Linked DNA regions of Homo sapiens: regions 1, 2, 3, 4 and 6 are each linked to region 5. Evidence: promoter capture Hi-C in 16 types of primary human blood cells and fetal thymus (Javierre and others, 2016). All regions are on one chromosome and are shown on one strand. The core of a region is centred on a gene start or on the middle of the fragment in contact, and the rest is flanking DNA. Distances in the headings are between cores, read along the strand shown. Region 1 overlaps LOC105373578 (a long non-coding RNA gene). Region 2 holds the start of LOC102723413 (a long non-coding RNA gene). Region 3 has its middle 130 kb from the start of THORLNC. Region 4 overlaps LOC105373578 (a long non-coding RNA gene). Region 5 holds the start of LINC01956 (long intergenic non-protein coding RNA 1956). Region 6 has its middle 11 kb from the start of CCDC93.

Region 1 (4,238 bases), core at 1,561-4,060, 650 kb after region 5:
CTGGCCTGCTCCCCATGTGCAGAATGAAAGCCCTGGGCCAAAAGGCTGCTGTAGATCCTTCCGTCCTCCAATCTGCAGGGTTCCCCTGCTATTGCTCTCCTTCTAGTATGACTGTAGGACACATTTGCCCCTCATTCATGTTCCCACCTCAACAGCAGCTCTCCTGAGAAGCCTTTCCTGGGTATCCCAGCCCATGGGCAGTACCTTCCTCAGAGCACCTCCAAACTGATGCCCCCTACCCGCCCCACATTTAGCTTCTGTTGCATGGTGATACCAATGGGTGTGTCCTCTCTCCAACTAACTAGGAGATTTTTTGAGAGCTGAGAATGCTTTGTATTTCTTCTATATGTCTCACAAGAATAAAAACAAAGTTAATAATATAATAATAGCAACAATAATAATGATATGATGATGATTGCTACCTTTCCTGAACATTTCAAATACATATGTTCATCTAATTCTGATACTACCCTGAGAAGTATTATCATCCTCATTTTGCTAACGTGGAAGCTGAAGCATAAAGAGGTTGTGGGACTTGCCCAAGGTATCCCAGGAGGAAGAGTTTGGAATCTGGGTGCCTTGGCTCAGAAACTATGTGTGTGAGCACTAACTGCTACCAAAGCTTGAGTAGGTGCTGAGCTCCTATCCCTGCTGCACACATCATGTCTATGTGTGTGGCTGTTCAAACATCTTAAGTCTGTGGCACATTTTATATTCGTTCTAGCCCATCTCTATGTTCCCAATGCCTGGTATAATACTCCACATATGAATGTCTGGATGAATGGAGCTATTCTAAAAGAAAGGTCACCACCTACCACCACCACTGCCGCTCCCCCAACCCCATGGCCTTGCCAGACATTCCACTCGTCCAATATCCTTTATCCATCCATAGCCCCACCCCATCCCCCACCCCCAAGCACATTACATACCCTTAAAGCTAGTAGAACAAGCTAAGGAAGATCCCACTCACTTCAAATGGTGTTTACCTAGTACTCTATCTGAGCAAAGCCCTGCATAAATAATTCACCTGTCACATTCTCTTTTAGTACATTTTAGGACTTCCTAATAAACTCTGGACAGCTAACTAATTTACAGATCTGATGGCACAACATGCCCATTTACACAGTAGCTTCTAGAGAGAACTTGCCAAGAAATTCTTCCATTACTCCCTGCTAGGTCCTTCCACTTTCAGTGGAACCAGAGGCTCAGACAGGACTCTAACTCTTCCCCTTCTGTCTGTCTCCAAAGCCACTGCCCATCCTGGTTTAGTCCAACCTTTCAAGAGCCTTACAGTGCAGTTTGGATATATATTACCTGGGGACCTTGTTAAAATGCAGATTCTGATTCAGTTGGTCCAGGGTGGGGAGAAAGGGTCTGAATTTCTAACAAGCTCCCAGGTAATGCAGATGTTCCCGGTCCCTGGACCACATTTTGAAAAGCAATTCCCTATCTCCTGCTTCAGCAGAACCCCGCACTCCCAAGCCCACCCTCCATCCTCCCAGTAATCTAACGCACAAGATCGATCACATCGCTTCCCCTCTTGCACCTCCTGGGATCCTGTCCACACTTCTTGGACTGACTCTAGCCACTTGTCTGGGACCTCAGCCTTTTTCTGCTTTGCCTCCTTCACCCGCCCCCCACCCATAATACCATTTACTATCCCTCAACATACCCAGTGTGTTTCTTCCTCCTCTGTAAAACTGCAGGGTTATCTCTGTTGCTCCAGAAAGCCTTCCCTGACCTCCCTTTTCTTCCAAGTGTGATAAGAAGCCCTCCCCTCTGCCTCCACAACACTTCTATAAACCTGTCCCATAGCACAGGTGTATTGACCCAGGTTGGTCTCCCCACTAGACTGAGACTTTTGTGAGGACAGGGACCATGTCTTCATATCCTCTGTGACTCAACAAATATTTATTTCATAAACAGATGAGAACCTCATTAAAGTATTCCTTCACACAATGAGGGAAGACAGTTAATAAAATTTCTAAAGGAGCAACAGCTACTTTGTTCTTAAGAGTGCAAATCTTTGTTACATGTAGAATCTAACTTTTTAAGCCTAATTAGATATTTGCCTATATTAATGTATTTTACTATGTCATTTGCTTTGCAAAGTGCAGATAAAAATTCCAAATGTTGGCTGGCATTAAACAACTTCTAAGGGTGAAATTAGCAAATTAAATGAATTTGGTCTACAACTGGCACGGGAGATAATGGTCCTTGATTTGGCTGCAGCACGACTTTTGCTCAGTTGTTGGAGGCATTGTTTCATAAATGGTCTCTTAGGAGGATTATAATGGAAATGGCTAGTGATATTTAACAAGGTAGGTAGGTAGATGATAAATAGCTAGATAGATTATAGATAGATAGATAGATAGATAGATAGATAGATAGATAGACCTTTCGCACATTAGGGATAAATATATCAACCACAAATAATAATAACTATCGTTGACTGAGCAGCGGCTCTGTACCAGACCCTGGGCTAATTATTTGCATCTCTGATCCTGTGGTCTCCTCTAAACAATCCTGGGAGATGATTTTCATTATCCCCATTGTACCAGTGGAAATATTGAGTCTCAGAGGTTGAGCAACTCATCAATGAGTAAACATTTAGTGAGAGAGGCTAGGCTGAGATCAGATTTCACTGCTTGTAACCACCAAGCAAAACTGCCTTTTGTCAAAGGTTTACAGTGGTCCTATGTAATTAAGAGACAAGGGCATCTAGTGGCCATATGGCATCAAATACAAATAAAGAGCCTTCATTCCCTGTGATCTGCAGCCACTTCAAAAAGACACTTCAAAGACAGAGGCAATACCCAGGATGTCCAGCCCAGTGGGGGAAATTCAAAGCCAATTTAAATCCTTGATGGAATCCCACTTGAAGTGGGGAGTCTAAGACAAATGCATGTAAATGAAAATCTAGTCATTAAGCATAGAACTAGTAATTTCCTGGAACTAAGTCAAGCAAGTGTCACATAGGAGCACCCTAGAGAGAGGATCAATGTGACTAGAATAACTGGAAAGGAAAGTTAAACAACATCTAGGGAAAGCCCAATATGGTCCAAGTAATGCCCCATGCTCTTCACCTGTGTGATATCATTCATTCCTCAAAGTGTCCCTGTGACGCACTCACAGTCAGGGCCATTTTACAGATGGAAAAACCGAGGCTGGGAGAGATTCAGAATTGCCTCATAAGTGGCAGGACAGTCTTTCAAACCTGGGTCCATCCTGTGTTTTCTGTGGAGTATGCTCACCTCCCCCATTCCTCAATCCCTACAAGCCTGCCATTCCTAATGGATTTTTTAAAGTTCTCTAAGTAGTCACTTGCCAGCAAACTGATAGAGCCCAGCTTGAGGCTGTGGTAAACACCAGCCCTTGGTGGGGGGTGAAAGACTGAAATTTCAGGAAATCGTGGAAATACTAGTAATTTGAGAGCATTGAGACACATTGAAAGAGCAGGAAACAAAACAAAACAAAAATACTCCAAACGTTCATTCTATTATTGGAAACCTGAAGAGATGAAAATATGACCTTTTCTGCCTCCTTGCTTCCAAAATAGTGACAAATGTGTTTTATATTTTTACAAGCTATATTAACAGAAGCGACTTCAAATGTGTGTGGCCTCCCGGGAGCTTGATGTTTTGATCTATCTTTTTTTGGCTGTTCTTTGGCATGGAGAAAAGGGACGCTTTTCTAGCAGGCCAGTGTCTATATGGTTTTGATATGGCCCAAACTTTGGCCAAACAAAGTCGTAACCCAGCCAGTCTCTCAAACCATATCTCTTACCCAACTCAGAGGTGCCCCTTCCAACCTAACTGCTGAGGCCTGACAGATACCAAAGAGGATCTTCAGAGACGCCAGAGGTCGGGTGCCATCCCTGGAAACGAGGAGAACAGAGTGCTGGAAAGAATCTTCCATTCTTACTTTTTTCCTCTGAGCCTTGATTTCCATATCTGAAATGAGGAGACTCTGCCTACTTCCTGGAGATTTGTGAGGAACAAAGAACTTTTGCACAGTACCTGATGTAGTAGGCACTTAATAAAAGAAGCTGGACAGATGATTGCCTTTCTCCACAATCACCTCAAGGGAAATACTAAAGCAGAAAAGTCATTCTATGGGGGCAGCTTCAGGGCAAATGAGGAAGGAGGCACTCTTCCCTTCTACTGCCTTGAAGGTAGCAACCACTGCCAAATGACTGCATGTCCATGGGGGTGCAGGCAGCTATGTCGCACTGGGTG
Region 2 (4,349 bases), core at 1,538-4,037, 790 kb after region 5:
TGCCCCACTTCTTTGCTGCTCTGTAGTAATCCTGTTCAGTCCCCATGGTTCTGGGGATGTGGACTCTCACCCTCTGCACTCAGGCCCAGAGGAGGACACAGAAGCCAGGCAGGCTTAGCAAAGCCGTGTCCTCCACAGGAACCTGGTTACATCTGTGGGGAAAGAGACACCCTTTTCCTCTGGGATGATGAGACATGAGGACCATGACATCATAGAGCACTGGACTTGTCACCAGGTAGAGAGGGACTGCCTGAGAATGAGGCCAATGTGGAGAAAAGCAGAGCTGAGAGACACAGACAAAAACAAACCCTTCAAGGAGTACAGATTTTGAGCATCTCAGTTGAGTCCTGAGTTACATAAATGAGTTAACAACCTCTCCCTTTGTTTCTTAGCAAAATTTGAATCAGGTTTCTGTTACTCGACTGTTTTCATCTTACTCGATGTGTGCACATTCTACCAACATTGCTCACTTTATTGATGAGTAAGGAATTACAATTCTCTTTACTTCTATGTCATCATTTTCAATATAAGTAGTTGGCCAATACAGAGAAGTAACATAAGACAGCATATAGTAGGCTTTCCTGTCATTCACGTTTCTTGGGCTGCCTCGGCCTTCTTTCTGCGTGCAAAGCAAATTTATGTTTCTGTTTCTGAAATCAGGTTTCTATTACTTGAGACAAAGGGTCCTGATTGATACAGGTTTGTGAATCATTCTGTAAACATGACCATTAAAACTATGGTGAGAATGCAAATAGATCCAAAGATTAAGCTATAGGGAATTTCATTTAAGGAGAGTGAAAAGGAAGAAAAGCCAGCAAAGGAAACTGAGGGAGTGATCGGGGGTTCCAGGAGACCTGGCACAGGAGACAGCATCCACTAGGTAGGAGCAGAAGACAGGGGTGTGGGTGTGGGCAAGGCCAGATATGCAGAAAGTTCAAGCAAAGTGATGGTTGGAAAGAGTCTACTGACCTGGAAATTAGGAGGTGGAGAATTACACCAGGAGTTTGTTGGGAACAAAGCCAAGGGGCTGTGGGTTAAAGAACGAGTAGAAAAAAAAAGTCTTGTGTTTAACACTGCTGAAAAAAATCATAAATGACACAAACAAATGGTAACACATCCTATGCTCATGGATGGGTAGAATCAATATTGTGAAAATAACCATACTGCCAAAAGCAATCTACAAATTCAAGGCAATCCCCATCAAAATACCATCATCATTCTTTACAGGTTTAGAAAAATCAATTCTAAAATTCATATGGAAGCAAAAAAAGAGCCTGCACAGCCAAAGCAAGACTAAGCAAAAAGAACCAATCTGGGGGCATCACACTACCTGATTTCAAACTATGTTATAAGTCTATAGTCAATAAAACAGCATGGTACTGGTATAAAAATAAGCACATAAACCAATGGAACAGAATAAAGAATCCAGAAAAGAACCCGAATACTTACAGCCAACTGATCTTCAACAAAGCAAACAAAAATGTAAAGTGGGGAAAGGACACATTTTTCAACAAATGGTGCTGGGATAATTGGCTAGCTATATGTAGAATGAATCTGGATCCTCTTCTCTAGCCGTATACAAAAATCAACTCAAGGTGGATTAAGGACTTAAATCTAAGATCTGAAACTATAAAAATTCTAGAAGATTATATTGGAAAACCTTCTAGACATTGGCTTGGGCAAAGATTTCATGACCAAGAACCCAAAGGCAAATGCGATAAAAACAAAAATAAATAGCTATTTAATTAAACTAAAGAGCTTTTGCACGGCAAAAGGAAGAGTCAGCAGAGTAAACAGATAACCCACAGAGTGGGAGAAAATCTTCACAATCTATACATCCGATAAAAGACTACTATCCAAAATCTACAACGAACTCGAACAAATCAGTAAGAAGAAAAAAAAATCTCATCAAAAAGTGGGGTAAGGACATGAATAGACAATTCTCGAAAGAAGATACACAAATGGCCAACAAACATATGAAACAATGCTCAACATCGTTAATGATCAGGGAAGTACAAATCAAAACCACAATGAGATACTACTTTATTCCTTCAAGAATGGCCATAATCAAAAAATCAAAAAACAGTAGATGTTGGCATGGATGCAGTGATCAGGGAACACTTCTACACTGCTGGTGGGAATGTAAACTAGTAAAGCCACTGTGGAAAACAGTGTGGAGATTCCTTAAAGAACTAAAAGAAGAACTGCCATTTGATCCTGCAATCCCACCACTGGGTATCTACCCAGAGGAAAAGAAGTCATTATACAAAAAAGATACTTGCACACACATGTTTATAGGTGCACAATTCGCAATTGCAAAATTGTGGAACCAATCCAAATGCCCATCAATCACCAAGTGGATAAGTAAACTGTGGTGTATATATATATATATATGTGTGTGTGTATATATATATATGTGTGTGTATATATATACATATATACAATGCAATACTACTCAGCCATAAAAAGGATGAATTAATGGCATTTGCAGCGACCTGGATGAGATTGGAGATTATTATTTTAAGTGAAGTAACTCAGGAAAGGAAAACCACACATTGTATGTTCTCACTGATATGTGGGAGCTAAGCTATGAGGATGCAAAGGCATAACAATGATACAATGGACTCTGGGGACTTGGAGGGGAGGTTGGGAGGGGGGCAAGGGATAAAAGACTACAAATAGGGTGAGTGTATACTGCTCAGGTGATGCGTGCACCAAAATCTCACAAATCACCACTAAAGAACTTACTCATGTAGCCAAACACCACCTATACCCCAATAACATATAGAAAAAATATATATTTTTAAGTCTTGTGTTTAAAATGGTAGGTTGGGTGTATGCATTGACTTCCTTCTGAGACACAACTGAAGTGTGAGGAAAATAATTAAAAATATATATGTATCTTTAACCTGCAAGGACAATGAGAACAAGCGAAAAGACCACAGTGGATAAAAATTAGCAACAGCAAGTGAAAAATGTCAACAAATTTCTAGAAGTGGAAAAAGAGATGGAGAACTGGTGTCTGGCATTGTAGAGGAGAGAATGTAGAGACACCTTGGAGCCCAGTGGGGGTAATGGCAGAGAGCGATTCACCGCTTAGAACTCTGACCACTTCAGGGCTGAGGCACAGGTAGCTTGGAGAGCAGGAGTTAAGGCTCAGGCAAAGCTGAAAACAGGGAGGTAGTCTGAAAGCCTCTGTTAGAGCCACTGGACCCATCCCGGCTCAATCCCATCCTTTACAGTTGCATCACCAACCCCCTGATTCTCACAAGTAACCAGAGAATTGTTCTCTGGAGACCCTGAGAGGGCCAGAATCCCAACTCTGGAACATGTGTCAGAGTAGAGGCAATGGATGAGGCTCTGTGCCCCAAACTGAAGATTAGTAGAGGTCCACGTACGCATGGCCAGAGCCCCATCCTGTCTCCCGTCTTTGACCAGGGCACCAGGAGCCTGCTGTATGCTCCCCACGCAAGACATTGAAAGAGCTTCTCTGCAGAAACGATGCCCCTGTGGTGGTTGGTACAGTGGCGACTTAGCTAAATGGGAACTATGTTTAGCAGAATCCCCTTCCCTGGGTGGTTCTGCTTGGGCTGACAAGACGATCTGTGTGAAGTTTGGCAAGCAGAAAAGGGAAGCTGCCTCTGCCATGTTCTGAATGTGGGTGTAGCGTGCTAGGTGCCACCACAGCCCGCAAACATTGTCACTGGTGGCTAGCTCATTCTGGTGTTATAGCAGGGCTGCCAGACCCACAGCTCCATTGCCCCCACAGACTTCCTTCCACGTGGGGCATGGCACAGCTCTGCTGGGAAATGTTCTGGCTTCCTTGGCAGGTCACCTGCATCACTGAGGTGGAGGTGGTGGTGGCGAGAACACCCCTAACTACTAACTAGGTGTTTGAGTACCACAAACTAAGTGGCTTAAACAGCAGGAACAGAGCCTTCTGGGATGCTAGAAATGTTCCACGACTTGATCAGGGTGGTAGCTCCTCAGATTTATCCACAAGTAAAAGTTTTTCAAGGTTAGGCACTTTGTAGAGAATATGTTATACTTCAATACAATGTTAACCAATGTTCTACATAGCATTAATCATTTGCAGTGAGTGCTATCAAGAAAAGTTACAGTGTTCCATAAGAGGGCCTGGTCTGAGATGTGGGATCTGAGAGAACACCAGAGAGGTTGATCACAGGAGGTGACCGGGGGGCTGTGGTGTGAAACAGGCATGGGCCAGAGAGGGCACCTACTTGTAGCCCATGATAAAGACATTGCACTCATCTCTGAGACCTATGGAGGGGCTTCCAAGCAGGAGACATGTCATAGATTACTCTGAAAAGAACGAATGTTCAAGTACT
Region 3 (4,268 bases), core at 21-2,520, 520 kb after region 5:
AGACATCACTAATTGATCACAGCCCTCCTTTCTGTTGAAAATGGACAAAGCCTCAGCATTCTCAGCACAGCACTCCAGGCAGCCACAACTAATCCGTTCGAGTGGGCAACCACCGAAACCTATTTGTCATCCCTGAAACACCTGGTTACAGAAGGCTCTCCCAGGCCTGGAGTTTCTGATTCTATGATTCTCATTTTATTCACTATTTGAATATTAACTCTTGGTTTGAACATTCTTTCATGTGCCTGTTTTCTTCCATTATTATTGACTTCCTGGAGATGATGAGCCTTCTCTCTCATCCCATTCCATTCAATTTCCACAGGCAAAGCTCCTTTCCATACATATATTCCAAAGGCTCTTCAAATTCCCTTTCCCTAGTGGAATCTCAACGATGTGTATCAGTTATCTATTACTGTGTAACAAACCATACCAAAAGCTAGTGGCTTTAAACAACAGGTTACCTTTCCCAAAGATTCTGTGGTTGGCTGGTCAGTTCTCACTCAACAGATTTCAGATGGGGCTGAGTTCAGCCAGGGCAACAGGGAGAGCAGAAATGGCTGGGCCTCTCTCTACTTGGTCTTCATCCCAGCTTCTTCCTAGCATGGCGGTATCAGAGTAGAGTTATAAGAGGGTGAAGAGGAGGCTGCAAGGCTCTTTAAGGCATAATCTCAGAACTTTGATCGTATGGCTCCTTCCCATTCAATTGGGCAAAGCAAGTTCACATCAGGCCAATTCACATCAGATCCCCCTCCTTTTTCTTGGGAAAGGCAGCAAAGACACATTGTGAGGGGAGTGCATCCAAGAAAGGGAGGACTTTGTGGGCATATTTTTTTATATAGCCCAATAAGAATCTATTTCAAAATTGGGGAGGTAGACCAAAGAGCCCAGCTGTCTCATTCCTAGCCCATTCTTCTCTCTCTATCATTAAACCATTAGACCCCCCTTGACCTTAAGGCACTACTTGCAAGTTGGCGATTAGGATACCTAACAAAATCGTAAAAATTCCTCAGAGCCCAGCTGGCCAGAGTATGATGCAGCCAACAGACAAACAAAAGCTTTCAACCTGAGATAGGTCTGTTTACTTCTCTGGAGACACCAAGTCACTGACATTCACGTTCCTGATTAGCTCAACTCCCCCAAAACAAGACCACTGAACTGTCCAGTGCTTTTCCTTCATGACTTAACTACTTATCACTTTCTACTTTATAGAGATTGTGTTGGATTCAAGGCAGATGGACAGATTTGAATCCCAAATGCATCTCATACTACTAGCTGGATAACCCAGAGAAAATTTCTTTGCCTTGGTTTTCTCATCTGTTCAACGGGAAAATAGGAAACTTGCAAGATGGTTGTGAGAATTAATGGAAATAGATGCAAAGTCACTAGTAAAATTGCTGGCTTGCATTAGGTACTCAATAATTATCAGCTATTACTTGTTATTAATGGTGTTTGGTCAGGAAAAACTTCATGTAAGAGAGAAGCTTGGACTGAGTTTTGAAAAATAAATAGAATTTGGGTGCTGGGGAACTATCAGATGGAGAAAGTAGCAGACAAAGAAATGCACACTGTAGGTAATTTAGGTGTAAATAAGTGGACTAACTTGGTTGAAGCGGTCTTGTCTTTACATTCAGCCTTCAGCCTTCATCCTTCCTTCACTGGTTTAGGAAATAAAGTAGGGAAGGAGACTAAGGCCAGATATGCAAGAATTGTGAATGTATGGATAAGAAACCTGGGCTTTTTCTAGCACAGTTGAGGGCCATGGAAGGACAGAGGGACAAAATGAAAAACAAGCCTCCAGGGCATGATCAGAAAAATTAGTCCTGTCATCATGGCAGGGTGGCTAGGCTGGAGATAAACCAGAGGGAGAAAAAACCATTGGCAAGTGAGATGGCATATGAAGGTCAAGTGTGTTTGATCATGTTTTCAAAACTAATGCTTCTCATCTCTTCAACTGAGGCTTTAGGCAGTTTGAAATTATGTCCACAAATTCTTTGACACTGCTCCTATGGAAAAACAGAGTCTATTCCCTCCCCTTGAATGTGGGTTCACCTCAGTGACTAACCTCTAATGAATAGAATGTGGCAAAGGTGGCACTGTGGACTTCAAAGTCTAGATCATAAAAAGCAATACAGCTTCTGCCTAGTTATCTTACCCTTAGGATGCTTGCCCTTGGAACCCAGCCTCCAGGCCATGAGGAAGCCAGGTAGCCCCCTGGTGGAAGGGCCACATGTTCCAGCCCCAGATCCAGCTGAGGTCCCAGCTGACAGCCAGCATCACCCTCCAGACACGTAAATGAGAGAGCCTCCACATGACCCCACCTTCAGCCTTTGATCCCCACAAGCTGAGGCTAAGTGGAGCAGAGATGAGCTGTCCCTGCGGAGCCATGCTCAAATTGCTGATTTGCAAGCAAAGTAAATGCTGTTGTTATTTTAAGTCGCTAAGTTTTGGGGTGTTGTGTTACACAGCAATAGTTAACTGGAGCCAGCTGTTCTGTGTACTGGCTGGGTGTCACACATACACTGATTGTTCTCATACTTGTTCAGAAGGCCAGTTACCCAGAAATCATAATTTTTGGGTGGAACATCCTCTATCCCATCACTCTTTCCATTTTCTTCATAGCATTTGTCACAATTTGCAATTATAGTCTGTATTTGCTTGTTAGCTTGTTTTCTTTGCCTCTTTAGAATAGAAGCTCCCTAGGTACCCTGATCTTGTCTGTCTTACTCACTGCTGTATCCAATTACCTACTAAGTGCCTGGCATATGGTGAGCACACTATAAATATCTGTGGAATAATGAATGAGTAGATAAACACTATGAAACTCGGATATATTCAATTCCATTACAGCAACCACTTACAGAAGACATGTGCCAAAGTTTTAAGAAAAGAAAAATGTGTGCAGTTTAGGATTTTTTTTTTTTTTTGAGACAGAGTCTTGCTATGTTGCCCAGGCTGGTCTCAAACTCCTAGAACTTGGAACCCAACAATCTTTCCACCTCAGCCTCCCAAAGTGCTGGGATTATAGGCATGAACCACTGAGCCTGGCCCACTTTAGGATGTTAATGGAGAAAATGATTTACCTTCACTTTTTTGTTTTTTTATGAATTGGTACCAAGCAGCCTTTGGGCCCTTGTTACTACACCATCTCAGCTGGGCTCACAGAAAAAGAGTGCTTTTCGGATGCTTCCTCTGAGAACCATTACACACGTCATCTCATCAAACCCTCGGTAGCTCCGTGTGGCAGGTATTCCTGTTTCCAATTAAGGGACGAAGACACTGAGGCTTAGAATGATTCAGTATCTCTCTCAAGAAACACAGCTTTGAAGTGAAGAAACCAGGGTACAAACTCAGGTGGGACTCCATACTGGCAACACATGGGGCAAACAAATTCAGGTGGACCAAGGAAAACTGAACGAGTCTTTCTCCTCTGTGATGGCAACCCACGGATGTGCGCTAGCTGTTCACAGGCAACTCTTCAGCTTCTGCAGGGATGAGCGGGGAACAATAAGATAGCGTTCCTTCCTGTCTTCATCTGTGTAGATTGCTGCACCAGAGCACTTTAGACTGGGTAGCTCATAAATGACAGAATTTATTTCTCACAATTCTGGTGGCTGGGAAGTCCAAGATCCAAGTACTGGTGGATTTCATGTCTAGAGAATGGTGGATTTCTGGTGCTTCTCACTGTGTCTTCACATGACAGATGGGATCAGGGAGCTTTCTATGGTCTCTTTTATAAAAAAAACACCCATTCATGAGGGCTCCACTCACATGACCTCAACACCTCCCAAAGGCCCCATCTCCAAACACCATCACTTGGGGATTAGGTTTCAACATATGAATTTTAGGAGGACACAAATATTCAGACCATAACACAGCCATCATTCTTTTTTTTTGAGAGGGAGTCTCACTCTGTTGCCAGGCTGGAGTGCAATGGCCCGGTCTCGGGTCACTGCAACCTCCACCTCCCGGGTTCAAGTGATTCTCCTGCTTCAGCCTCCCAAGGAGCTGGGACTACAGGCGCATGTCACCATGCCTGGCTAATTTTTGTATTTTTAGTAGAGACATGGTTTCACCATATTGGCCAGGATGGTCTCCATCTCTTGACCTCGCGATCCACCTGCCTTGGCCTCCCAAAGTGCTGGGATTACAGGCGTGAGCCACCAGGCCTGGCCAGCTTTCATTCTTTTAGTCATTCAACAAACGCTCACTGAGCACATACTATGTATCTCTATTGCAGAGGCCAGACCTTATCCTAGGCACTGCCTGTC
Region 4 (3,733 bases), core at 734-3,233, 630 kb after region 5:
TTTCCTTCATCTCGAATGTCTTGATTTCTTCTTGCAGCACATGAAAAATACCGTGCCACTTTCTTCTGGCCTTCAAGGTTTCTGATGAGAAATCTGTTGCCATTCTAATTGTTTTTTTCTTGGAAGCAAGGCATCTTTTTATTTTCTTTTTTTTATGGCTGCTTGCAAGATTTTTTCTTTGTTTTTAGTTTTTAGAAGCTTAATTATGACATACCTTGGTGTAGATTTCTTTGGTTTATCCTGTTGGAGATTTGCTCCACTTCTTGAATCTGTTGGTTTCTGTTTCTTGCCAAAGCTTGGAAATTTTTAGCCATTATTTTTTCAAGTACTTTTTCAGCCTCACCCTTTTTTTCTTCCTTCAAGATTTTAGTAACACAACATTAGATCTTTTGTTACAGTTCATGGTCTCTGAGCCTCTATTCTTTTTTTTTCAGTCTATTTTCTTTCTGCTGCTTAAATTTGGTAAAATTGCAATTGTTCTTTCTTTGACTTCACTGATTCTTTCCTTTGTTTCCTCCATTCTGCTGTGGAGCTCATCCACTGAGCTTCTTATTCTGGTTATTGTATTTTTCAGTTCTAAAACTCTCATTTGGTTCTTCTTCATATCCTCTATTCCTTTGCTGAGATCTCCTGTTTCTTTTCTGAGGCTTGCTATTTTTAAATTGGCTTCCAGGGTGTTCATAATTGCTCATGGAAGCATTTTTATGAAGACTACTTTAAAATGCTTGTCAAATTATTCTTACATCTCTGCCATTTCTGTGTTCACCTCTATTGATGGTCTTTTCATTAGTTTGAGACCTACCTGGTTCTTGGTATGACAAGTGATCTTTGTTTGAAACCTGCATATTTTTATATCGTTAAGAACCTCTAGATCTTATTTAAGTCTTCTATTATAGTTAGCTTTGTCTGACATCACTCCAGCAGGAAGAGGAGAGATACTACTTCATTATTTTCCGTGATGGTAGAAGTCCAAGCTCCCCACTCAGCCACTCCCCATGGAAGGAATCTCATCCTTACTGCTGGGCAGGGTGAGTTTTTGCTCCCCACTAACATCGTGATGTTGGGGTGCAAGGAGAACTTGATATCAGGCAGAGCTGAGAGTCTTGGCTCCCTATTTGGCCTTCTCTAACACTGCTCCTGTGTGTGGGTGTTGAAGCACCTCATGACAGGCTTTGCTAGCATGTGTAGGACTGGTCCACAGTTTATCCTGTGGCGTTTGGCCAGAGTGTAATAATTATCGTGTAAATATATTCTACCTTGCTAGGCTTCCCCTTTACTGAAACTTTACTAGAAAGCCTTTATTTATTTGTTTGTTTGTTTGTTTATTTATTTATTTTTCGGTCTGTGCCTCTTGGAGTTTCCAGGTTCTCAGCTTCTTCAGCTCTAACATTGGGATATATAAGGTTAGAACAACAACAACAACAGAGTAACCAGGAAACTCATCAGTGAGTCATTGTTTAGGTCCTGAAGCCTCTATCCAGTCTGCCTTTTTCTATCCATTTTTCAGTCTTCTTATACGTGTTTTATATATAATATTCAAGGTTTCTAGTTGTACTCAGAGGAAGGAATAAGGAAAATTTTATCTACTCCATCTCCCCAGAAGTGGGAGAGTCTGCAGTTCTTTTAAATGACATAAAATATAATTATTGATGTGGAATTTTTCTCGTAATATGTTGCTAAGTCAAGTTGTAAAACACTGTAATTATATCTTTACAGTAGAATGTGTATACAAAAGTCTAGAAAAGTGTCCGGAGTTGGTATCAGTGACTAACTTCCAGATATGGGGATCATAACTGATTTTTATTTTCTTTTCATCAGAATTTTCTGATTTTTGACTTGAAAAGCACTTGCATAATTTTAAAAAGCATTTAAAAGTATAAATGAAATGAAGTATTTATATATATTAGAAATAACTATAATATTAGCTACTGTTTATTGAGCAGCAGCTATTTTGGGTCAGATGAAATACTGAGTAGTTTATATGCACTATTTCATTTAATCTTCACAGAGGTAAGATAGGCTTTATGCACCCCATTTTACAGGTGGAGAGACAAGTCTGGCAAAGTTAAGTCACTTGACTATGTTTACAGAGTTAGTAAGAGCTGGGATACTAACTGAGCTTGCTGACTTCCTGCTACCTCCTAACAATCACTGACATATTTGTGGTGCTTTATAGTTTACAAAGCATGTTTCACACATGCTCACATTTAGTTCTCCTGATAACCTAGAGGTGAAGTTGAAGGGGACGCCAAAACCTGACCTCCAGAATTTGGTTTCCATCTAGACCTTCAGTGAGATTCAGATTGTCACAAAATGAGAGTGGACTAGATGAAGTCTCTCCAACTCATTGTATCCAACTTGCCCTCAGGGATACTCTCTGGAATCTTACCATCCACAAGGCTACCTACAGGGACCTAAACATCCTGTGTCCACAGAGCCTCCCATGAAGAGCAAAGAGCCAGTTCAGCAGATGGATAGAGAAAACACTCCCCAAGGGTCACTGGACAGCAGTGCTACCACAAGGGAGACAGGGGGCCTGGGTCCCCTCCCTACCCCTGAGTAGAAACACTTCACTCATAATCCAGATTCAGCTGTGAGCCCCTTGTTCTTTATTTCCTCCTACCTCAAGCTCCAGAGGGAGAAATTCTGCAGCATCTCTAGGAGGGAGAGACGGAGTAAGTAGGCAACATCTTTGGAAGTAGCCATGTTGGTCTTCCAAGGCCTCCCACTTTCTTTTTATTACCCAACCCCTATTATACTCAGGAAGTGTCCTCTCCCTACCCTTGTAACCTCCAGGGCCCAGGAAGGACTTCTTTCCCATCTAGAATTTGTTCACTCACACACCATTTGTTCTTCATACACGTTCTGTTTGGCTCACATGATACTAGTTGGTTTTTAGTTGGCCAGTTAGTTTGATGTGAAGTAATTGACATATAAAAATCAAAAAAGTTCATAGAATTCAGTGACTGGATTATCTCAAAAAGCTGGAAGATCTGGCACTAGGGGTCATGTGGCTTCATGGTGCCAAGGTACTAGAGCTGAGTGGCACCCACTCCGTCACTGAGGCCCATTCTCTCCAGTTTGCTACAGTCCCCACTGCTCTCTCTTATGAATAGTCACAGTTCACTGATTACCTAACAAAAGATACACTTTTGTGTACCCTGCTATCAATTAATTCCTCCTCTTTTCTCTGCCTCCATAAAACACTGTTTTCCTCTCAGATTTATCAAAGGTCTTCAAAAGGAAGCAATCTGATCAAACTTATTGCCACCACAGACACTTGCTATCGAAGTCTGCTCCCAGACCAGCAGCCTGGCATAACCCGGGAGGTTGCTATGAATGCAGACTCTCAGGCCCCACCCCAGACTTCCTGTATCAGAATGTGCACGTTAGCAAGACCCCCATTCATGTGCATGTCAGCATTTGAGAAGTGCTGTCCCATGCAGCTCTTTGACCCTTATCCCACCCAGGGGTATATGTGTGCTCAAAGAGAAAATTTATGACACTAATCAGTGAGATTTTAATGTGAATAAGTGAAGCTGAAGACATGTCATAGATTTTAAGGGAGATCTATTCAGATTCACTGACTTTACAGTCTACAAGAGACTCTGGCAACATGCTCATGATTGGTAGCCCAGCTCCTACTTTGTGGCTAAAAACTTGGAAGCTTGGAGAGGGGAGCTGTCTTGTCCAAACTCAAAACCTAGTAGTAGAGCTAAGAGGAAAGAGAGGG
Region 5 (3,759 bases), core at 802-3,301:
TGCACACACCCATGTGGATACATATGCACACATGCAAAACATAGGCATGTATACAAATGTCAGTGGACCAATATACAGTGTGTTCACAGCAAGCACATGGACATTGCCTGTGTAGAAGGTTCTGGCACACAACTATACATGAGCCAGGAATACACATACTGGTGTCCAAGATGCACCTGCATGCCCCAGCTGGTGGGCTTCACCCCTAGCCAGGGGAGGGAAAAGACATTGTTTCCAGGGCTCAGGACAGACCTGTGTGCCCTCTCCTTTCTGTGGAAGCCACCAAAAGGAGAGGCAGCCCCTTCTCTCTCCCCTGGAGGCAGCTGGTCCAGTCCAGGTGCCTGTGCTCAGACACAGACCCAATGCTACAACCCTCTCCCACCAGCAAGTACACTCAGTGCTCTGCCAGCTGTAGCTCTTGGGACCGGAGCAGACCCAGGGCAAGAGGAGGTAAACATCCCAAACAGATTTCTCAGAGGCTTGGTAAGTCATGGGCCATTAAAATTTGCTCCTTGAATTTGCTTCGAATACAGCCTTCTCCACCTGGGTGCCACTCTGGAGATGGAGTGGGCCCCTCCACTCTGGAATTCTCCCCACAGGTATGGGGGTGGGGTGTTTTGAGGACATTTGGGAAGATTTCAGGCTATAGTAATGGAAGACTCTAGGTATGTGTGACCCAATAGAAAAGCAGAAATGTATTGTGTGTGTGCATGCACACACATCCTGAAGAGAGTATTCTTATCAACAGCCTGTGACTCTGCCTTTGGCAGGCAGGTGGGTGGGAGTGCCAGGAGGGGGCAGGGGATTGTAGAGGAGACTAGTGAGTACTCGCCTCCCCCTCCTCAACTCTGATGAGGAGTGGGGTATAAAGCCGGGCACAACTTAGATTCCTCTCTGCCCCCTGCCACCACACAAGCGCACGGAGAAAGCTCCATCTGGGGTGCTCGCATCCTCCCCTCCTCCTGAAGACCTGGTCTGCAGGCCTCCAGGACCAGCGCAGAGGGGCGGGAGCCTCCTGTGAGAGAGATGAGAGTCCAAAGACAGAAGGGACCCAGGAGAATTTCTGATTCAACCACGACTACTGCAAGAGTGGGCTTGGGCCCTGACAGCAGCAATCGGGCCCTGACAGCAACCATTTCCTGCAGCGAGACCCACGGCTCTGCCATCTGATAAATAGAACACAGTGGAAAACTGGACGGAGAGAGCTGGGGAGAAGCCGCCTCCACACTCCCAATTTCAATACTGAATCCTGAAGAAAACAAAAGCGAGTCCCAGTAACGACCACAGCAGGGCTCTCCTTGCCCTTCCCCCGCCCCTTCACCTCCAGGTACAGGACTTGTCCATTTAGCAGAGTGCAGGCAATTCAGAAGATGTCACTCCCAGAAATTCAAAATTAACATGATCATTAATCACTGAGGGTCTTCCGTGCACATTGCTAGCCATTTAACACAATTTATTTCCTTCAACAACATACATTTCTGTGTGTTGCCTATTATAATCCCCACCTTACAGATAAGAAAAGTGAGGTCCAGGGTCATCCTGCTAAGGTCTCACCAAATCACGTTGAAGTCTATACTGTAGTTACTTATAAATAGAAGAATGATTCGCAGTCGCATAGCGCAGTGTCAAGTCTCCACATTGGTCCTGGACTTTGGCACCTGGGGGAGCAGGGGGAGCACTGATTTGCGTGAAGGGCTGTTATCCCTCCTCTCCTCTCCTTCAGTCTTAACTAGGAGTAGCCTCAGCACCTCTCCAGCCCTCTTCCCTCTTACTCTGTAACTCAGGTCCGAGTTCCTGCTCACACACCCCTACTCTACACCTCCGACCCGGGTCTCAGATTAGCGTCCCAAGAGATTCCGATCTTTTCCCAGATTAAGATGCCCCTATCCCCGCACAATCAGCAGTTTCCCCCCTCACACTTTCCTCCCGCACCTGCGTCCAGACTGGGTCCGCCGAAACGGCCCGCCCCATCCGGGCGTCTTGGCCTTGCTCCAACCCGGCTGGAGCTGCCCGCGCCCGGCACGGTCCGCGGAGGGCGCTTCTTACAGGCACTTCCGGTCAGCGCAGCCCAGGCCGCAGGAGGGTACGGCCCTGGACCCCCTCTCTCCAGTGGGGGCTGGAGATGGGAGCGCAACTGGGGCTCCGCCGAGGTCTCTGAGGGCACTTCACCCCCGCCCCCGACCCCAGGAACTGCGAAACCCCAAATCTTCTTGCCCACCGCGGGGCGCAGGTCCTGCCCACCCGCTCTCCAGGGACGCGCGCAGAAAGGCAGTCCCGGCCGCCTCCCCGCGCCAGGGTCCGGGCAAGCGTCTGAAAGCTGTGCTTGGGCCGCAGCTCCAGCCATCGCCCCTCACCCCCGGTTCTCCCGGGCCACGTTCATTGCACAGTTTCGATTTGTTTAGGCCGGGGTCTCCTCTTCTTTCCTCAACATCTTTTTCTGTGGGCTCCCCGCCTCCGTATTCCTCCTCATCCTCTGCTCCAAGGTTTCCGTTTTTTGCACCGGAGGCCGCCCTTCTGCGACCAGCCTTCTCCGGCCGCTCGGACTCGGCCTCTGCAGCGGGGTGCACCCGGGCGTCCCTTCGGCTCCCGGCCCTCCCTCTCTCCTCGTCGCCCAGCCCTGCCTCCAACTTTGCGCCCCCGGCTGCCCCGCGCCGCGGCTCAACTGGACATCCGAACGCTCCGACTGTCCGCTCCCCTCCCCTCCCCCGGCCGACACGTGGGGACCAGCGCTGACCTTGGGTGAGGCCACGCTGTCCCCCGCTGCTCTCCAGTCACCCCTGTATCCCTTTGACTCTTGGGCTTCCGAGTAGGGGCTCCCGGAGTATTACCAGGGAAAAGGGGAGCGCCCTTCCCCTGGTAATGAGAGTAGCCACGCAATGTCGGCTGCGCAAACTGGGCCTCAGAGCGGCCAGGCCAGGGTCAAACCAGGAAGAGGGGGAGGGGTGGACAGCAAGGCTGAAGAGACCTGACTTTATTTGTGTTGCTTCAACTGGTCCTGAATGGTTACACGAGGCGCGCGCTCTTGCACACACACCGCGGGCAGCCCAAACCCTCGCTGGCTCGGCCCGCCGGCTCCTCGCCCTGCCAGTCCTGAGCCGGCTCTGAGCCACTGGAGTCAGAGGGCCCGGGCGCCTGCCTTCTCGGTGCGGGCTGGGGAGGACCTGCTCGCGAAGGGCTGCCAACTGAACTTTTCCTGCACCAGGTGAGCCCCTTCTGAAATCCTCGCTGCGGGATACTTTTTTTTTTTTTGAGGGGGCGAGAGGAAGTTGCAGAGCAGCTCCGGCCCCACCACCTCTTTCCGCAATAAAGCCACCATCCTCAGGGCGCAGAGATTTGTTCTCCTCCTCTCCTTTCTTGGAGCTGTGTGGCCAGTTCTCTTACCCAGGCAAAGCTGAGGTTTCCTGCTCGGGTTCACTGTTTACTTAGGATTTCTCTAAAACTAGCGGCGCCAACTTGCCCTCCCTCTGCGCCTTCCCTGGCGGCCCCCACCCAGGCCTGGAGGAACTTCCAGAAGGGTGAGGCCGGGCAGGCGGGGGCGAGGAGGCCGCGGCCTGGCAGGGACTGTTCTTCCATCCTTTGCTGGATTTCCCGCGCCTTCTATCCCTGCAGATTGAGCTCTGGCCTTCACCCCGGGCCTCTTAACTTCAGGTCCGCCCAAGTGCCCTCCTCTCAGCAGGCGGAGGCTCACAGCTCTGTCGGGAGTAGGGAGGTAGGTACCCCAGGGAGGACGGCTGAACCTAGTTCCACGCTTATCTGGCC
Region 6 (4,334 bases), core at 463-2,962, 810 kb after region 5:
CACCTGAGCCTCCAAAAGGGCTGAGATTATAGGTATGAAAAAATTAATAAATCTCAGGACCCCAAAATCACTAAGCCAAAGAGAAAAGTCAGCCTGGGAACTGCAAAGAGCAAACCTGCCTCCCATTCTATTCCTAAATAGGATGGCTACAAAGATAAAAACCTACATACCTCCCTCACAATTTGTCCACAAAATAATTCCTTGTGGACAAAGGACAGACAGAACTCAAAGTCATCCCTCTGCTCCCAGGAGACAAATGCACAGCTGATTGCTTCCTTTGATTCAGTGGAAGGCTAATCAGAAACCCAAAATAATGCAACCATTTGTTCTTTGTCTACCTGTGACCTGGAAGCCCCCTCCCCACTTTGAGTTGTCCCACCTTTCCAGACTGAACCAATGTACATCTTACATATATTGATTGATGTCTCATGTCGCCCTAAAATGTATAAAACCAAGCTGCGCCCCGACCACCTTGGACACCTGTTGTTAGGACCTTCTGAGGCTGTATCATGGGTGCATCCTTAACTTTGGCAAAATAAACTTCCTAAATTGATTGAGACTTGTCTTAGATACTCTGGTTTACACAGGCATGAGCCACCATGACTGCCTAGAAGAATCTTTAAAAAGCTGTAAGATCTGCTTCTCTCTGTGTGTCCATATGTCTATATGTATTACGTGTATGTGATATTTCTCTACTAAAATATATGAAAAAAAGCTCTAATTTGCTTGAAGAAAACCTAAGCAGTTAGATCAAATATTTTAATGCCTTTTAGTTCATGTGATCTGCGTAAATCTTCGGTAAATAGGATTAGTTTATTACTATTGTTGTTTAAATAAAAACAACTGTGTCTTGTGATCAGGAAAACACCCATGCATTTAACTTTAGAGTTCATGCTTAGCATTTGCATGCTATAAAAATGGTTAACACGGGCCGGGCCTGGTGGCTCATGCCTGTAATCCCAGCACTTTGGGAGGCCGAGGCAGGTGGAACACGAAGTCAGGAGATCGAGACCATCCTGGCTAACACGGTGAAACGCTGTCTCTACTAAAAGTACAAAAAATTAGCCGGGCGTGGTGGCGGGCACCTGTAGTCCCGGCTACTCGAGAGGCTGAGGCAGGAGAATGGCGTGAACCTGGGAGGCGGAGCTTGCAGTGAGCGGAGACAGCACCACTGCACTCCAGCCTGGGTGACAGAGCGAGACTCCGTCTCAAAAAACAAAACAAAACAAAACAAAAAAGGTTAACACAGAAATAACTTAAATGATGGCTAGCCTTGTTTAATGGGCACTTCAAGAATTATTGTTAAGAATGAGTAGACTAGGTGAATATAGACAGGATAAAAGTTTATAAATAAAATTTTCATGGTTTCAAAAATCTTTGTAGATAACTTAAAGTTGTGTTATAATTAATAGATTCTCATGAAATGTCTGAATCATTTCTAAGTATGATAAAATGCTGAAACATTAATTGCTGCACGTAAGTTTAAGTTTGTTTTTGGCTTCTTGAATTGTACAAAAAGACAAAATGCATTTAGGTCTGTTAGTAAATGTGTTCTATTCCACATTGAAAAATTGTACTTTAGCCAGATAAAACAGATGGCACATGCATGTAGTTCCAGCTACTCAGGAGGTTGAGGCAGGAGGGTCACTTGAGCCCAGCTTGTGTAACAGAGACCCCATCTCTAAAAGAAAAAGAAAAAAAGAAAATTTGTACCTTCAGGAAGCACATATTTCTAGGAATTATGAAATGGTCCTACTCTACAGAATTGGTTTGCAACTGCTAAGAATTAAAAAGTATAATTAGTATACATAATTAAAACTACTAGAAATAAAGGGAACAATTCAGTATGCTAAGCAGGAAAGTGAGAGTGTTTTTGTTGAGAAAAATTATAAGAAAGGCATAAAGGTATGCTTTTTTCCCTTTGGGAAAAAAGTAATTTTGTCTAATTTTGATATTATTTAAAGGTTCTTTCAAAATATGGACTTAGGAACTAAAAAGAAGCAAGGAAAGAGGGAACCTGTAAGCAGGAGAAAGAGAGATTTTGTGTTTTATCAAGTTAATTTCCTATGCTTCATACTGTCTTTATTAGGTCTCTGATTACTTAAGAAAATTGAGTTAAAGGGTTTTTTCCTACAAATATGCAATTTTTTTTTTCCCAGACAGGGTCTGGTCCTGTTCACCAGGCTGGAGTGTGGTGGCATGATCTCCGCTCACTGCAACTTCTGCCTCCCGGGCTCAAGCCATCCTCCTACCTCAGCCTTCCAAGTAGCTGGGTCTACAGGAGCATGCCGCTGTGCCTGGCTAATTTTTTGTTGTTGTTGTTGTATTTTTCGTAGAGACAGGGCGTATTAGTTCATTTCCACGCTGCTAATAAAGACATACCCGAGACTGGGCAATTTACAAAAGAAAGAGGTTTATTGGACTTACAATTCCACGTGGCTGGGAAGTCCTCACAATCATGGCTGAAGGTGAAAGGCACATCTCACATGGCAGGAGACAAGAGAAGAGAGCTTGTGCAGGGAAAGTCCCCTTTTTAAAACCATCAGATCTCATGAGACTTATTTGCTAGCATGAGAACAGCACAGGAAAGACCTGCCCCATGATTCAATTACCTCCCACCGTGTCCCTCTCATAAACACATGGGAATTCAAGATGAGATTTGGGTGAGGACACAGCCAAACCATATCACGGGGTTTTGCCATGTTGCCCAGACTGATCTCAAACTCCTAGACTTGAGCGATCATCCCGCCTAGGCCTCCCAAATTGCTGGGATTACAGGTGTGAGCCACTTCCCCCAGCCTTGCAACTTCTCTTAATTAAAACTCTGGTTAAAGGAATAATTATTGTTTCATAGTGGCCTGTGATCCTACTTTTGATCAAGTGTTTTGAAAGTTTATTTTCGACAAACTTCCTAAAATCAAATTATAAAATTAAGTCCTTTTGACCTTGAACCAGCTGTTGGACAGCCCAGAGGGCCCCTGGAAATGCAAAAGAGAGATATTAAACAGATTAAACAGCTTATTTGATTCCTTAAATTACATGAGAAACTTTGTCAAATAAGAAATGGAATTTAACCTTCTTCGAGTTATATTTGTATGTCTTTAAGGAGGTTCATAATAAGGATAGAAAGAACCCTGGCAAGTACAGGTTTCTGATAACTTTAAGGTTTTTTTTTTTTTTTAATACCATTGGACTGGGTAAGAATTTCTAGAACTCTAATGAGACTGATGGGTTTGTGAAACTGCTAACCAAGATCAAACAGAACAAAAATTTATTACATGAGACTGAATGAACTGACAAGAAAGAATAATGGGGCTTAATGGCGTTTTAAAAAGGGAGTATTTCTGATTCTTTTAATGTTTCATTATCCCGATTTAAGGGAACTTTTTTTCTTTCTTTTTTTTTTTTTTTTTTTTGTGAGACGGAGTCTCGCTCTGTCGCCCAGGCTGGAGTGCAGTGGCGCTGTCTCGGCTCACTGCAAGCTCCGCCTCCCGGGTTCACGCCATTCTCCTGCCTCAGCCTCCCGAGTAGCTGGGACTACAGGCGCCCGCCACCATACCTGGCTGATTTTTTGTACTTCTAGTAGAGATGGGGTTTCACCGTGTTAGCCAGGATGGTCTCGATCTCCTGACCTCGCGATCCACCCGCCTCGGCCTCCCAAAGTGCTGGGATTACAGGCGTCAGCCACCGCACCCAGCAAGGGAACTTTTTTTCTTTTAAGCTAACTATAACTTATAGCAATTTGCTAATGCATACTTTTGTAAACAAAAATTGAAACATTTGCTTTTGTTCCCTACCTGATCCCTCCAAAACTCAGGAAATAATTCATGGGTATCCTTATTTTTGTTTATGATGATATGGTTATTTGCATAAATTCAACAAGAATCTGTTCTCTTTAACATGATACAACTGAAAACATTGACTATATTATCAAAGCTTTGACTGGAATGTCATATTTGAAAACATGCATAGAGAGTCTGGCTTTAAGGGCAAAGTCTGATGTCTGCATTGGTTTGACTTCCTAGCATCGAGAGGTTTTAAAAAGTCCAGTTTAGGCCGGGCGCGGTGGCTCACGCCTGTAATCCCAGCACTTTGGGAGGCCGAGGCGGGCGGATCACGAGGTCAGGAGATCGAGACCATCCTGGCTAACACGGTGAAACCTCGTCTCTACAAAAAATGCAAAAAAAAAAAAAAAAATTAGCCAGGCGTGGTGACGGGCGCCTGTAGTCCCAGCTACTAAGGAGGCTGAGGCAAGAGAATGGCGTGAACCCAGGAGGCGGAGCTTGCAGTGAGCCAAGATCACGCCACTGCCCTCCAGCCTGGGGTACAGAGCG

The links. The method cuts DNA at HindIII sites, captures the fragments that hold promoters and counts their contacts. A CHiCAGO score of 5 or more calls a contact.
Region 1: a fragment that was not itself captured here is called in contact with the fragment with the promoter of LINC01956 in region 5 in 1 of 17 cell types (M0 macrophages); the score reaches 5.4 in M0 macrophages.
Region 2: a contact is called between a fragment that was not itself captured here and the fragment with the promoter of LINC01956 in region 5, in 7 of 17 cell types (activated CD4 T cells, total CD4 T cells, non-activated CD4 T cells and 4 more). The highest score is 8.3, in activated CD4 T cells.
Region 3: a contact is called between a fragment that was not itself captured here and the fragment with the promoter of LINC01956 in region 5, in 1 of 17 cell types (endothelial precursors). The highest score is 6.2, in endothelial precursors.
Region 4: a contact is called between a fragment that was not itself captured here and the fragment with the promoter of LINC01956 in region 5, in 14 of 17 cell types (M0 macrophages, M1 macrophages, naive B cells and 11 more). The highest score is 12.9, in M0 macrophages.
Region 6: a fragment that was not itself captured here is called in contact with the fragment with the promoter of LINC01956 in region 5 in 4 of 17 cell types (erythroblasts, naive CD4 T cells, non-activated CD4 T cells and 1 more); the score reaches 6.2 in erythroblasts.

What each region holds. Positions count from the first base shown.
Region 1 is chr2:118,189,116-118,193,353 of GRCh38, reverse strand. All of the region lies in intron 4 of LOC105373578 (a long non-coding RNA gene), which reads left to right. Among named protein-coding and RNA genes, the nearest start is that of THORLNC, 4.8 kb to the right of the region's middle. The HindIII fragment of the contact is 4,372 bases long and covers 625-4,238 here.
Region 2 is chr2:118,040,387-118,044,735 of GRCh38, reverse strand. LOC102723413 (a long non-coding RNA gene) reads right to left here and starts at 170. Exons shown (of 3, transcript XR_923247.3): 1 at 1-170. The HindIII fragment of the contact is 6,011 bases long and covers 1-4,349 here.
Region 3 is chr2:118,311,641-118,315,908 of GRCh38, reverse strand. No RefSeq gene overlaps it. Among named protein-coding and RNA genes, the nearest start is that of THORLNC, 130 kb to the right of the region's middle. The HindIII fragment of the contact is 426 bases long and covers 1,058-1,483 here.
Region 4 is chr2:118,208,301-118,212,033 of GRCh38, reverse strand. The region is part of intron 1 of LOC105373578 (a long non-coding RNA gene); the gene reads left to right. Among named protein-coding and RNA genes, the nearest start is that of THORLNC, 24 kb to the right of the region's middle. The HindIII fragment of the contact is 3,372 bases long and covers 298-3,669 here.
Region 5 is chr2:118,834,438-118,838,196 of GRCh38, reverse strand. It overlaps LINC01956 (long intergenic non-protein coding RNA 1956), which reads left to right and starts at 2,051. Exons shown (of 3, transcript NR_199712.1): 1 at 2,051-3,709. The HindIII fragment of the contact is 14,254 bases long and covers 1-3,759 here.
Region 6 is chr2:118,022,595-118,026,928 of GRCh38, reverse strand. No RefSeq gene overlaps it. Among named protein-coding and RNA genes, the nearest start is that of CCDC93, 11 kb to the right of the region's middle. The HindIII fragment of the contact is 4,453 bases long and covers 1-3,938 here.